4 separate regions of the Homo sapiens genome follow, and all the other regions are linked to region 1. Evidence: promoter capture Hi-C in 16 types of primary human blood cells and fetal thymus (Javierre and others, 2016). All regions are on one chromosome and are shown on one strand. Each heading gives the region's core, a stretch centred on a gene start or on the middle of the fragment in contact. The rest is flanking DNA. Distances are from core to core; before and after follow the strand shown.

Evidence for each region. The method cuts DNA at HindIII sites, captures the fragments that hold promoters and counts their contacts. A CHiCAGO score of 5 or more calls a contact.
Region 2: a contact is called between a fragment that was not itself captured here and the fragment with the promoter of DHX40 in region 1, in 2 of 17 cell types (endothelial precursors and M0 macrophages). The highest score is 6.1, in endothelial precursors.
Region 3: a fragment that was not itself captured here is called in contact with the fragment with the promoter of DHX40 in region 1 in 1 of 17 cell types (M2 macrophages); the score reaches 5.6 in M2 macrophages.
Region 4: a contact is called between a fragment that was not itself captured here and the fragment with the promoter of DHX40 in region 1, in 1 of 17 cell types (M0 macrophages). The highest score is 5.8, in M0 macrophages.

What each region holds. Positions count from the first base shown.
Region 1 is chr17:59,563,776-59,567,455 of GRCh38, forward strand. It overlaps DHX40 (DEAH-box helicase 40), which reads left to right and starts at 1,835. Exons shown (of 18, transcript NM_024612.5): 1 at 1,835-2,008; 2 at 2,852-3,019. The coding sequence starts at 1,897. RefSeq lists enhancers at 1,516-2,058, 1,674-1,933 and a silencer at 2,344-2,473. The HindIII fragment of the contact is 14,558 bases long and covers 1-3,680 here.
Region 2 is chr17:59,218,427-59,222,106 of GRCh38, forward strand. It overlaps GDPD1 (glycerophosphodiester phosphodiesterase domain containing 1), which reads left to right and starts at 2,085. Exons shown (of 10, transcript NM_182569.4): 1 at 2,085-2,325. The coding sequence starts at 2,184. RefSeq lists an enhancer at 2,111-2,661. The HindIII fragment of the contact is 164 bases long and covers 1,723-1,886 here.
Region 3 is chr17:59,271,486-59,275,165 of GRCh38, forward strand. GDPD1 (glycerophosphodiester phosphodiesterase domain containing 1) reads left to right here. Exons shown (of 10, transcript NM_182569.4): 9 at 1,300-1,351; 10 at 2,166-3,680. The coding sequence ends at 2,288. Among named protein-coding and RNA genes, the nearest start is that of GDPD1, 53 kb to the left of the region's middle. The HindIII fragment of the contact is 939 bases long and covers 1,315-2,253 here.
Region 4 is chr17:59,299,342-59,303,021 of GRCh38, forward strand. No RefSeq gene overlaps it. Among named protein-coding and RNA genes, the nearest start is that of YPEL2, 30 kb to the right of the region's middle. The HindIII fragment of the contact is 4,395 bases long and covers 1-3,680 here.

The sequences.
Region 1 (3,680 bases), core at 585-3,084:
ATCTCCAGCTTAGCAGGTGCAGAAGAAAAAATCTGCCTACAAGTGGACCTGCGAAGTTCAAACCAGTATTGTTCAAGGGTCAACTGTATCAGAAAGATTTGACTACTATGAGCTAAGTGGTAATCATCATTGGTCTGAAATGATGATTTTTAGAAAGTGACTTTATTATATCACTGATAGAGATGCCCTATACTGAAATACTGAGATTACCAATACCTTGCCTGTACCACAAATGTATTTTTGCCATTTTGCTTTCTGTTTCTATAATATTTTGAATTCCTAACATGATCCAGAAGGCTGGGAGATGCTCCTAATGAAAGAGAGAAACCTGGAATGTTCTCCTATTTACCAGATTGCTTCCTCTCATACCCAGGTTTTGAGATATAAAGTTGTTACAAAGTTCCAACTTATTTGGTATCATTCAAAATCTGATGAGCTTGCATTTTAAGAAGTGTTGATCAGTTCCATTTAAAAGCAGTTGGTATGAGTTCACTTTATTTTTTGAGGTGGAATCTCGCTCTGTTGCCCAGGCTGGAGTGCAGTGGCATGATCTTGGCTCACTGCAACCCCTGCCTCCTAGGTTCAAGCGATTCTCCTGCCTCAGCCTCCCGAGTAGCTGGGATTATAGGCGCGTGCTACCACACCCGGCTAATTTTTTTTATTTTTTTATTTTTAATAGAGACGGGGTTTCACCATATTGGCCAGGCCGGTCTCGAACTCCTGATCTCAAGTGATTCATCTGTCCTGGCCCCCCAAGGTGCTGGCATTACAGGCATGAGCCACCATGCATGGCCATGACTTCACTTCAAATGAGCACAGAAAAATCTGGGGGCCCAACAACCTTATGGTACATCTTTTGAAGCCTGGTCAGACAAGAGGGTCTTTAGGTGATGGTGAAGTGACAGTTTTGAGTTGTCTTCTTTGGTAGTAAGTGTTGGCTAATTCTAACAGCAGGAACAATTGAGGAGTCCAACAAACAATCTTGTTCACATTGCAATGATTTTGTTACAGTTGACACTAATTTAAAAATTGGCAGGCTCTAGACCAGAAAGACCTGCCCCCAAAGTACCTTTTCTGAAAAAGTTGCCCTGCCTCAGATGCTGTGTATCTGTTGAACTTTTCAGCTACTGTGGTTTCCAAGGAATGCACCTCTATCAAAAATGAGCTTAATTCCTAAGGAAGTCAATTATTATTCCTCCATTCCAGCAAAGTCAACAAATATTGACAGCCCACCTTGAATCACTGTGCTGGGCCCTGGATGTAGCAGTGTTTTAATATTTCGACTCTTGTGGGGGGGGGCTTTACAATCTAGCTGGGCAGAAGAGGAAACATGCAAATAAATTAAAATGCAGGGTCCTATGAGGGAAATGAACAGCCTTGGTGACCTAAGTTTTGATAATAACATAACTAAAAGTTCGGCTCCACAACTCAGTAGCTGTGTGCCTTGGACAGGTCATATCAGATTAGGAAAGGTGAGAATGAGTTGAGGAACGCAGCACTCTGGGATCATGGTTCCAGCTCCGGGCAGAGGGTTACATCGTGTCAAGTGTGTGAAGGCAGAATAGCCTGCAGAGACCACTGTGGCGTTGAAAAGAGGTGTCGTCGCGACCTTCGGCGCCGGAGAGGCGAAACAAGAGGGGGTCTTCGGGCCCTCAGGTATGGCTCAGCCGCCCAAGGCGAAGCGCACGTGGCAGTTGGCGGGAAATCCCTGGGGGGTGGAGCCTCGGCTCGAGGTCCGGCCGCCCCGTACCACGTCATCGAGCAGCTCCCCCTCCCCTTGCTACAAGTCGCACGCGCGGAAGTAAACACCTCTACGTCATCAGGGCGCGTCCTCGTCTTTCCCCTCCCATCTCCTCAGATCGGTGGACGTGCTCGCCTCCACTCGGGGCCAGGTCTATGTCCCGGTTTCCCGCAGTCGCGGGCAGGGCGCCAAGGCGGCAGGAGGAGGGTGAGCGGTCAAGAGACCTCCAGGAAGAGCGGCTCTCGGCTGTTTGCATCGCCGATAGAGGTGCGGTCCGCGGGACGGTACGGAAGCCAGCGGGAGTTACGGCGTGGGGGTTTTGGTGGGGGGATGAAAGTACGCCTTTGGCAGGCTGAGAAGAGTAGTGAGGAAGCCGTGGCGTTCTCCTGGCTTTCCAAGCCCGAGGCGAACTTTGCGTCCAATGAGCACTTTGCCTTAGAGGGGGGCGGTCCCAGATTCAAGTTAGGCGAAAACCTTACTGGGGGGCGAAAAAGTGAACCCCAACGCCCGAAATGCATTCTGTTCTTAAACAGGCTCATAGACCCTTTGTTCTCTACCCATTCATCCCCCCCACCCTTCGTCGGGCCGCCAGCCTGCCTTTGGGTACAGTATGAAGGGAGCCAGTTTCCAGGAGCCAGTTTCCATGGTTACCCACCACTTGGCCTTCTGGGATATCAGTCGCTCTGAACAGGGACCTAACTTGAACCATGAATCAGAAGCAAACACAGGTGGCTTCTAATCCAGCTGAGAATTTTCTGCTGTGTTCCAGTTTTTGGTCTATTGTTAAATAAAATTGAGTTTTGTGCTTCTGTGTAAGTATGCATGTGTATACGTTGCCTTGAGCTATACTTGCTTTGAAAAGTACTTTGAGTTATGCGTGAACAAATGCTCAAGTTGCTGGATTTCACCAAAAAGTTGTTCTGGGCTCATTAACCCTCACTTACAAATTGCGCTCATTAACGCTCACTTACATGAGCGATTTAACTGAGAAGTCATGGATGATCCCGTCCAGCCCTAAAATTCTATTGCCTTTCTGGTTTTAGTCATGAGAAATTGAGTCAGAGATATCTTTACAAGTCTTTTAATTGACTTGTTTTTCTGTTATTACAGAAGAGAAAGGATGCACGTCCCAGGAGGGAGGAACTACTCCAACTTTTCCTATTCAGAAACAAAGAAAAAAGATTATTCAAGCTGTGAGGGACAATTCATTCCTTATTGTTACTGGAAATACAGGAAGTGGTAAAACAACTCAACTCCCAAAATATCTATATGAAGCAGGTGATTTTTTTCTGTTGTAATAATTGGAAATATTTTAAAAATATCCTCTTTTTAAAGGCCAGTAGGACTTCTGTACTCCATGATTGCCCAGTATTTGCTTTATAGTCCCGCTTCTCTTGGCACACCCCCTTCCCCTATGTCTCCTTTGCTTCTTTATGGTCTATTTCAGGTTCAAGAATTAGTTGGGATGGCAAATTTTCCCATTTTTAATTACCATAATAATCTCAAATAGAATTACATCTAGATATTCCATTTTATAGAATAAAGTTGTCTAGCAGTAGACTATTAACCATTGGATACTGAAATAATTTTGAGGGGTAAGAGATATGTGATATCTGTTGCTGCCATTAGTACTTCTTGGTTCTTTCTCTAGAGCATTATCAGGTAAATATTTATCCCCTGACTTTGCCAGCGCAAGCCAACTAACAAATTACCTTTAAAATACGTTAAGTAAAGTTAATAGGAGGCCTTTGGTTTGGACTGATCCCCCGCACTAGACCCAACAGACCAAACCAAAATGGAGTTACTCATACTGAAGTTCCACGCCACCAAGTCTAGAAACTAAATTTTTCATCTACTGAGAAATCAGGAGAAAGAGATAATAGCCAAATCCCCAAACAGACCAGTTTTAGGAGCATCAAGAAGTTTCCTCTGCTTTAAC
Region 2 (3,680 bases), core at 555-3,054, 350 kb before region 1:
AGAATTGTTCCCAGGGAGGAGATTTATGACAGTTAAGTTCTTCTGGGAGCCTTTGATTTTAGGTTGATAAGGGATTCCAGGAACTTAAATGCCTTCAGCTCAATATATATATATTTTTTAAGAGACAGAGTCTTGCTCTGTCGCCCAGGCTGGGGTGCCGTGGCATGATCTTGGCTCACTGCAAGCTCCGCCTCCCAGGTTCAAGCCATTCTCCTGCCTCAGCCTCCCTAGTAGCTGGGACTACAGGCATGCACCACTATGCCTGGCTTATTTTTGTATTTTTAGTAGATACGGGGTTTCACCATGATGGCCAGGCTAGTCTCGAACTCCCGACCTCAGGTGATCTGCCTGTCTCAGCCTCCCAAAGTGCTGGGATTACAGGCGTGAGCCACCATGCCCAGCCTCAAAATAATTTTTATGCCACAGTGGTTTATTCTAGACGCTTCCATAGTCATCAGGTGATATTTTGAAAAATAGAACTATGTGCGTCAGTTGATCTACAGGAAATAGTTTAACAGCCCTAAACAGAACACATGATTTTTTAACCTGTAAGTTTCCTCAGAATGTTGCTCTGTTGCCCAGGCTGGAGTGCAGTGGCACCATCAAGGCTCACTTCAACCTCGACTAAAGGAATTTTTTTTTTTTTTTTTTTTTTTTTTTTTTTTTTTTTTTTTGAGACGGAGTCTCGCTCTGTCACCCAGGCTGGAGTGCAGTGGCGCCTTCTCGGCTCATTGCAACCTCTGCCTCCCGGGTCCAAGAGATTCTCCTGCCTCGGCCTCCTGAGTAGCTGGGATCACAGGCACACGCCACCACCCCTGGCAAATTTTTGTATTTTTAGTAGAGATGGAATTTCGCCATGTTGGCCAGGCTCCTGACTTCAAATGATCTGCCCGCCTCAGCCTCCCAAAGTGCTGGGATTACAGGCTTGAGCCACCGTGCCCAGCCACCCCCTATTTTCTTCTAATTTTCTTTTTATAGTTGAGATAGGGTCTTGCTCTGTCGCCCAGGCTGGGGTGCAGTGGTGCAGTCATAGCTCACTGCAGCCTCGATTTTCCAGGCTCAAGCAATACTCCCACTTCAGCCTCCCAAGTAGCGTGACTACAGGTGCACGCCACCACGCCGGGCTTATTTTGTTTTATTTTTTGTAGAGATGGGGTTTCGCCATGTTGCCCAGGCTGGTCTCGAACTCCCGGGCTCAAGCGATCCACCCTTCCTTCCCGGCCTCCCTAAGTGCTGGGATTACAGGCGTGGGCCACCGCGCCCGGCTGAATCAGGATTTTAAATATTCACTCTGCTTTTCTAGTCCTGTGGGAGATATGGTCTTCTCCGTAAAATTTCTCCCTCAGTCCTGGGTGATTTATTTCTTTTGCATTGAAGTGTGTGGCTTTTCGTGTGTTAGCAGTTTGTAATTTGTCGGGTAAAAGGAAAACTAGTAGGGCCTTCTGGAACTTAGTTATCTGTCTTTCTAGGACTTTTAGGTAATACCTTATAACCTTAACAAAGTTTCCTTATTTTATACGGACTTGTAAGTCAACAAATACTTCTACAGTGCCTATTGTGTACAAAGAATGAGGATTGCACTTTCACAATGAAATGAGGGAGGACAGGGGCCGATCTCTCAGATATTTGACTGATAAACCAGTACCTTTTCTAGTATATGCGACCATAGGGGAAATTCTCTCTAGGCTAGATAAACGGAGGAGTTTATTTAGTGTTTTAGCAAGCTTTATCGCCTCCATAGGTACAAATTATTTGCATTTTCTAGAGCAAGGGATAAGACGCGCCCTGGAATCTTTCCTTTTTGATGTGGATTTTCCAATTAGGAAAGGCTGCCCGTGAATAGTCTTTTCTGCTTGAGTGATGGCCAACACACTGGCAGGTTTGCAAGCTTTCTCTTCATGAGGGTCCGTCCACAGAGCTAGGTGACAAACGCTCAGTCCAGGATCTCTGCAGGTTCCTACACGGGAGCCGGAGAGCGCCTGCGCGTCGGAGCCTCTTTGTTGCTGGGGCGCTGGGGTCCAGCTGCGCGTGCGCAGTAGGCCGGCACCGACAAGTGCGCTGCACCAGTGGCACCGGCTGGGGGCGAGCCGACCTCGAGCAGCCGCCGCCGCCGCCGTCGTTGCTACTGCCGCAGCGGAGTTCAGAGGGCCCGGAGGTGGGAGACTTCCCACACGGTGACTGAGATGTCGTCCACTGCGGCTTTTTACCTTCTCTCTACGCTAGGAGGATACTTGGTGACCTCATTCTTGTTGCTTAAATACCCGACCTTGCTGCACCAGAGAAAGAAGCAGCGATTCCTCAGTAAACACATCTCTCACCGCGGAGGTGAGAGGGGTCCCCAGAACCCGATGACGGAGGTGGGGGAGGCTGAGGGTCCTTTGCGGCTCCGCAAAAGGCAGCCGGGTGCCAATCCCTGAGAGTTTGAGGAAGAATGGGGTTGTGTGAATTGAGGGCTCTTCCGGAGGTGAAGGCTGTGTGAAGGGAAGGTCTCCTGAGGGGAGGGAAGGAGAGGGATTCCCGGTCAGAGCCACGGCGGGGGTCTCTCGAGGGCAGCAGTGTGAGGGGTTCTCTGAAACGGGAAAGACACGGTCGAGAATGAAGGGTAGGTGGAGCGTTTCTCGGCGGATGGAAGGATGATCGCAAGGTCCCTTCCTAGCAGCAAGACACAAAGGGGGAGCGCCGTGCAGAACCGAGGGTACCCCGCGGGGGGCACCGGGAGCACACTGCTCCGAGCGAGCTAGTGGCTGAGTGGATGGGAAGAGCCGAGGCGACGAGGAGGGCTGGGGATTTGCATGAAGCTGGACGAGCTGTAACCCCTTGTCTGCGGTGCTGGGGGCCCGTCCCACCCCCACGTTCCGAGCACTCATAATTGAGAAGAGAGGGAAACCGAGTCCCCCGAGCCAGGGACATTTCCCAAGGTCACAATTAGAGCTAGGGCTGAACTGAGACAGGAGCTACAGCGTCCTGGTCCTCAGGGCTGGAAACCTTGCATCTTTTTTTTTTTTTTTTTGAACACTGCAATAAATAAATAAATAAATAAATAAATAAATAAACACGCAAAGACACGTGGATTTTCAACAGACTAAAAATGATTTCGTTTAGGACAGGACAGTATTGTTTAAAGAAAACAAAAATAAGTTTCTTTTGGAAAAGTGTTTTGCTAAAAGGAGCCCAGGTAGTCCACCCTCTAATTTCCCAGATAACAGGCCAAATCTTTGCTTCTTCATTATTGTGTAATAATGTGTCTTCATTGCATTTCAACTATGATGTATAAAGTGCGGTGAAATTGGATTATTTTCAATCAATTTTAACTGTTCTTTAAGGCTGAATCTTAAACCGGTTTAAAATTTGCTTGAAATTTAATACACACTTGAAATGATAATTTCTAGGAGTTTACAGTCTAAAACTTGGTGTAGTACCATAATCACTTTACTAACAAGTATTGGCCAAGGAAAAAGGTTTTGAAATATAAATACGGAAGTACATTATCATTCTTCTATATAATTTTATTAGTTAAGCATAGTTCTAATGAGTGACTTCAATAGTATTCTAGCCTTCCCACTCATGAAAAGCCTCAGAGGTTTTAAAGGGTGGTCAGCCAAATGCCTTGTTATTGTTTATTTGGGTTATCTGTTTTAATAGCTACCTGGTTAAACTGTAGGATGACATTTAACTACTAA
Region 3 (3,680 bases), core at 534-3,033, 290 kb before region 1:
TAATTTTAGTAAAAATCACTAAATAATTGTACTATATTTTGCTTTAAGATGGAACCTTGAATGCTTAAATATTTTAATAGTCCCAAATCACAACTTTTTATTATTTAACGCCTTTTCTTCTTATTTTATTTTATTTTATTTTATTTTATTTTATTTATTTATTTATTCATTTTTTGAGATGGAGTCTTTCTCTGTCGCCCAGGCTGGAGTGCAGTGGTGTGATCTCGGCTCACCGCTTCCTGGGTTCAAGTGATTCTTCTGCCTCAGCCTCCCGAGTAGCTGGAACTATAGGTGCCTCCCACCATGCCTGGTTAGTTTTTGTATTTTTTAGTAGAGATGAGGTTTCATCATGTTGGCCAGGCTGATCTCGAACTCCTGGCCTCATGTGATCTGCCCACCTCAGCCTCCCAAAGTGCTGGGATTACAGGTGTGAGCCACCGCGCCCAGCCTTAACGCCTTTTTCAAAGAGTCTTAAACAATTAGTTTTATCTTTTCTCTCTGTCAGTGTTTATTCTTTTTTGCTTTATTCTTGATTTAAGCTCTAGTTTTCAAGGATGCCTTTTTTTTGTACTCAAGTAAAACCAGGATGCATTTTTTTTCTTTTTTCAACCCTATTAACTGACAAGATGCATTGTTAATTGGTGTTAAAAGCACATGATTTCTAGTTTCTGTTATTTAATCATTCTAATAGACATAACAGAATAGAAATAATGTCTTTCCAGTGCAATGAATTCCTATCTTGCTCAAGAGGTTTGTATTTTGAAAGTTCACTTATCAGTGAGTTACTTGGAACAAAAAAATATTTTTTCCCTAGACATAGGATAGTGTAATTAATGGACATAATGCTTCTAACATCGCTTACAAAAGACTAATCCATTGTGTAATGAACTATGATGTTATAGAAATTGACCTGCATTTGTTGACTTATTTTAACTTGGAAAGTTAGGAACACACATTAATAGTAAGAAAGGAAAGCCAGCTCTTTCTCCTTCTTCAGCAGTGAAAATGAGGCAGCCTCTTTTCCATTGAGCTGTGCCAACAAGAATGGGTCTCCTATGAATCTGGTAGCAGCAAGAAGTAGAAAGGAGGTTCTGGTTGTCCACCAACCAGCAGCCTGCAGTGAAAGGAGATCCAGCAATTAAGACATAAATTAATTCACAACAGCTATTATTACTTGAGACCATTTCTTTTATTGCTGAAGCATTGGGATTAAATTAAACTGGAATTACTAAACTCTAAATTGACTAAATTAGGACTAAGGACTAAATTCCTAAATCAGTTTTGCTTTTTCTTTTCTAGCTTACTAATGAGGAAAGCTTTGTTTGACCACCTAACTGCTCGAGGCATTCAAGTAAGTTTCTGGAATGATGCATTTTGGAAGCAGCATAGCTCACCAGTTTAACACAAATATAAAGGGCAAGAACTTTTAACTGACTTAGTTTGGCCCTTGACTCTGATGCTGCTGCTTTACTGATCCACAAATGAGGACCTTAAGCTCTTCCTTACACTTAGCAATAAAGCATTGGCATTTCTGGATCTAGATTCCTCTTATGTACAGAATAGCTGATGCCAGAGGGGTGGGACAGTGTTTGTGTGTGTGTATATATATATAAATATATGTATGTATATTTCTTTTTTTACTTTTTTCTTTTTTTTTTTTGAGATGGAGTCTCACTCTGTCACCCAGGCTGGAGTGCAGTGGTGCAGTCTTGACTCACTGCAACCTCCACCTCCCAGGTTCAAGCAATTCTCATGCCTCAGCCTCCTAAGTAGCTGGGATTATAGGCATGCACCACCATACCTGGCTAATTTTTGTATTTTTAGTAGAGACTGGGTTTTGCCATGTTGGCCAGGCTGATCTCGAACTCCGGACCTCAGGTGATCTGCCTGCCTTGGCCTCCCAAAGTGCTGGAATTACAGGCGTGAGCCACCGCGCTCAGCCAGGAGTCTGTATATTTAACAAGCACCATGAATTTTTTTTTAACACTCCTCATTCCTGTAAGGAACAAAGTGGAATTTTAAAAAAGGATCTAATGATTTATTTAAATGATAGCTTTAAAAGGTTATTTCTAAATGTACCAAGACTGTAGTGGATAAATACTGTTATAAAAATAATTTTCTATTTTAACATTTCTTCTCATACTTCTCACACTTCTAATTTTCAGGTGTATATTTGGGTATTAAATGAAGAACAAGAATACAAAAGAGCTTTTGATTTGGGAGCAACTGGGGTGATGACAGACTATCCAACAAAGCTTAGGGATTTTTTACATAACTTTTCAGCATAGAAAAAGAGGTACTTAGAAGTATTGAAGGAAAAAATGAAGACCTAAGAAAAAAATATTTCATGATCATTTCCCTAAGCCATTTCCAGAATGGTAAAAGGTTTAATCAGTTTTTATTACCTCATTTTTAAGCCTGTATGAGAATGTAGAAACTATATATTATATGTATATTTATTTTAAATAATATTGTATATTTTATGTTTGTAAATTGTTTAGAAAGATAATTGGTTATGAGATGTAAGTTTTAATTTCTTAATGTGCATTTTTGTTTCTAGATCTTATACAGAAATCTTGATTAATAACATACACAGAAATGTACATACTACATCATCTACAGAAATCTTGATCAATAACCTAGAAACTAGGTTATCTAGGTTATTGATCAAGATTTCTGTAGATGATGCAGTGTTCTATCATAAGTAATTCTGGAATCAAAGACTATTGGATACATTTGGCATTGGGCTGAGTGTGGTGGCTCATGCCTGTAATCCCAGCACTTTGGGAGGCTGAGACAGGCGGATCATCTGAAGTCAGGAGTTAAAGACCAGCCTGGCCAACATGGCAAAACCCCATCTCTACCAAAAATACAAAAATTAACCATGCGTGGTGGTACACGTCTGTCATCCCAGCAGCTCTTAAGGCTGAGGCACAAGAATTGCTTGAACCCGGGAGGCAGAGGCTGTAGTGAGCCAAGATAGCACCACTGCACTCCAGCCTGGGAGACAGAGTGAGACTCCGTCTCAAAAAAAAAAAAAAAAAAAAAAAATGGGAGGCCGAGGCGGGCGGATCACGAGGTCAGGAGATCGAGACCATCCTGGCTAACATGGTGAAACCCCGTCTCTACTAAAAATACAAAAAATTAGCTGGGCGTGGTGGTGGGCACCTTAGTCCCAGCTACTCGGGAGGCTGAGTCAGGAGAATGGCGTGAACCCGGGAGGCGGAGCTTGCAGTGAGCCGAGATCGCGCCACTGCACTCCAGCCTGGGCTACAGAGCAAGACTCCGTCTCAAAAAAAGAAAAAAAGAAAAAAAATTGGCAATAGTCTTCACTGGAATACAATCAATTAGTAAAAGATTTTTTTTTTTTTTTTGACATGTAGTCTTGCTCTGTCGCCGAGGCCGGAGTGCAGTGGTGCGATCTTGGCTCACTGCAACCTCTGCCTCCCAGGTTCCAGCAATTCTCCTGCCTCTGCCTCCCGAGTACCTGGGATTACAGGTGCCTGCTACCATGCCCAGCTAATTTTTGTATTTTTAGTAGAGACAGGGTTTTGCCACGTTGGCCAGACTGGTCTCGAACTCCTGACCTCAGGTGATCCACCCACCTCGGCCTCTCAAAGTGCTGGGATTACAGGTTTGAACCACTGCACCCGGCCAGTAAAAGAAATTTTGAAGGCCAT
Region 4 (3,680 bases), core at 417-2,916, 260 kb before region 1:
ACAAGAACGAAACTCTGTCTCAAAAAAAAAAAAAAGAAAGAAAGAAAACAAAGGTACTCATCTGAAATAGCCCTTTATACCTTCTCATTATCTCTCACCCTTATCCAGTTTCATTTTTATCCATAGCACATATCACTAGCTGACATTTTTTTTATATATTGATATATTTGCTAGTTTTTTATCTGTCTCTTCCCACCAGGATATAAGTCCATAACCATAAGGAATTTGTTTTGGCTACTGCCTTATCTCAGAGCTTAGAACAATGCTTGGCACATAGAAGGTCTCAATAAATATTTGTTAAATAAATGAATTGTTATATTGCAGCTTCAGCTGTGGATCCACTTACAAATTAGTTTTTGTCTGGACATGAAATACTCCCCTTTCCTGATAATAAGCACTATGACTAATTTAAAAGTTGATCACAGATTGCAAAATGGGTTTGGGGACAATGATATCAATCCATGTGTTGCAGGCACTGAGATTTTATTGGTTGACTTCTAAGCCCAAAGCTAAGAAGGCAGTAGAGTGGAGGAAGAGGAAAATGAATAAGCCATGGTCTTCCTAAGCTAAACTGCTTGTGCTATAGTCAAGGACTTTGACCCTGGAATCAGACAGAATTAGGAAAGCAAATCTTAAGAAATGTGATAGTGCTGGGCACAGTGGCTCATACCTGTAATCCCAGCACTTTGGGAGGCCAAGGCGGACAGGTCACCTGAGGTCAGGGGTTCGAGACCAGCCTGACCAACATGGAGAAACTCCGTCTCTACTAAAAATACAAAATTAGACAGGTGTGGTGGTGCATGCCTGTAATCCCAGCTACTCGGGAGGCTGAGGCAGGAGGATCTCTTGAACCTGGGAGGCAGAGGTTGTGGTGAGCCGAGATTGCACCAACGCACTCCAGCCCGGGTAACAAGAGCGAGACTCCGTCTCAAAACAAAGTGAAACAAATCAAAACAAAAAAAAAATGTGATATTTACAGGGTGACATATGCAGGTAGAGGAAATGGTCCCTCCGGATCTAAAATGCTCTTTTTGATTTGAAAGATAAAATACAAGGAGAGGATAAGGAATATACAACAAAAATAAATTTGTCTTAAGGTGGAATTTATTTTATTTATGTGTTTAATTGACAATAATTGTACATATTCATGCAGCACATAGTAATGTTACCTTTTTTTCCTTTTTAAAACATTGTTTTCTATCACTTGTGTTTCACACAGGACATAATGATGTTTCAATACATATAATGTATAGCGATCAGGTGAGGATATTAGCATATCCATCATCTCAAACAGTTATCCTTTCTTTGTGTTGAGAATGCTCAATATCCTTTTTTGTGAGACATGGTCTTGCTTTGTCACCCAGGCTGCAGTGCAGTAGCATAATTATAGCTAACTGCAGTCTTGACCTCCCAGGCTCAAGCGATCCTCCCGCCTCAGCCTCTCGGACCACAGGTGTGTGCCACCGTGCCTGGCTAATTTTTTTTTATCTTTTTCTTTTTCTTTTCTTCCCTCCCCTACCTTCCTCTCCCTTCCCCCTCCCTGTCTCCCTCCCTCCCTCCTTCGTTTCCTTCTCTTCTCTTCCCTTCTCTTCTCTTCTATTCTTCTCTTTACTTTTCTTCTCACTATGTTGCCCAGGCCGGTCAATATCCTTCTCCTAACTACTTGAAACTACATGTTACTGTTAACTATAGTCATCCTATAGTGGTACACTAGAAGTTGTTCCTCCTATCTAGCTTTCTATCGCTTCCTTCCTCCTACCTTTCCTGGCCTATAGCATCCTCTGTTCTACTTTTTACGTCTATGAGATCACCTTTTTTTTTTTTTTAGCTTCCACATATGAGTGAGATCACGCGTTGTTTAACTTTCTGTTCCTGTTTATTCCTTAACATAATGTTTGAGGGGGAATTTAAATGCAAGAATGTAGATGTGAAAAATGAAATGGGTAGGTACAGCCAACAGTACAGAAAATAGTATGGAGGTTCCTAAAAAAATTAAAAATAGAATACCTTATGATCCAGCAATCCCACTTCTGGGTATATATATCCAAAGGACATGAAATCAGCATGTCAAAGAGATAGCTACACTCCCATGTTCATTGCAGCACTATCACAATAGCCAAGATATGGAAACAACCTAGATGTCCATCAACAGACAAATTGATAAAGAAAATGTGGTATACATATACAGTGGAATATTATGGAGCCTTTAAAAAGAAGGAAACCGCCTGGGCACGGTGGCTCACGCCTGTAATCCCAGCACTTTGGGAGGCCGAGATGGGCGGATCGCGAGGTCAGGAGATCGAGACCGTCCTGGCTAACACAGTGAAACCCCGTCTCCACTAAAACTACAAAAAGAAATTAGCCAGGTGTGGTGGCAGGCGCCTGTAGTTCCAGCTACTCGGGAGGCTGAGGCAAAAGAATGGCGTGAACCCAGGAGGCGGAGCTTGCAGTGAGTGAGCCGAGATCGCGCCACTGCACCCCAGCCTGGGCAACAGAGCAAGTCTCCGTCTCAAAAAAAAAAAAAAAAAAAAAAAAAAAAGAAGGAAACCCTGCCATTTGTGACAACATGGTTGAATCTGGAGAACATCATACTAAGTGAAATAAGCCAGACATAGAAGGACAAATACTGTATGATCTTACTTATATGTGGATCTAAAGCAGTCTAAATCACCTAAGACAAACTAACTTGCCTCTGTAACCCTTTGAAAGCAGGGTATCGCACATGAATACTTCCAAACGCAAAATCAATTCTGTGAGTTTCCGTAGTTCACCATTCATCAGGTACTGCTTTTTGCGAGTACAAACATATTTTTCTGCCGGGCACAGTGGCTCATGCCTGTAATCCCAGCACTTTGGGAGCTGAGGCGGGTGGATCATGAGGTCAGGAGATCGAGACCATCCTGCCTAACACGGTGAAACCCGTCTCTATTAAAAATACAAAAAATTAGCCGGACGTGGTGGCGCGGGTCTGTAGTCCCAGCTACTCTGGAGGCTGAGGCAAGAGAATAACTTGAACCCAGGAGGTTGCAGTGAGCCGAGATAGGTCCACTGCACTCCAGCCTGGGCGACAGAACGAGACTGTCTCAAAAAAAATTTTTTTTACCTACTATAAAATAAAATAAAATAAAATAGCCAGGTGTGGTGGGATGCACCTATAGTCCCAGCTACTCCAGTGGCTGAGGCAAGAGAATCCCTTGTTTCCAAGAGTACGAGTCCAACCTGGGCAACATAGTGAGACTTTGTGTCTAAAACAATTAAAAATAAAATTAAATAGTCAAAATAATAGTAGAAGAGAGTGGAATGGTGGTTGCCAGGGGCTGCAAGGAGGGGAAATTGAGGAGACGTTGGTCAAAGGATACAAAATTTCAGTTATGCAAGATGAATAAGTTCTGGAAGTCTAATATATAGCCACATGACTCTAGTTAACAATACTGCACTGTATACTTGCAATTTGCTAAAAGGATAGATCTTAAGTATTCTCACCACAAAAGAAAAAAGAAATGGTAACTATGAGAGGTGATAGATCCATTAATTAGCTTAATTATGGTGATTATTTGGATATCCATATATCAAAACATCAAGTTGTACACCTTAAACATATGTAATTTTTGTCAGTTATGCCTCAGTAAAGATGGGGAAAGTGAAATGGGTGGAGGATTTTGAGAAGTACAGGAGCATGA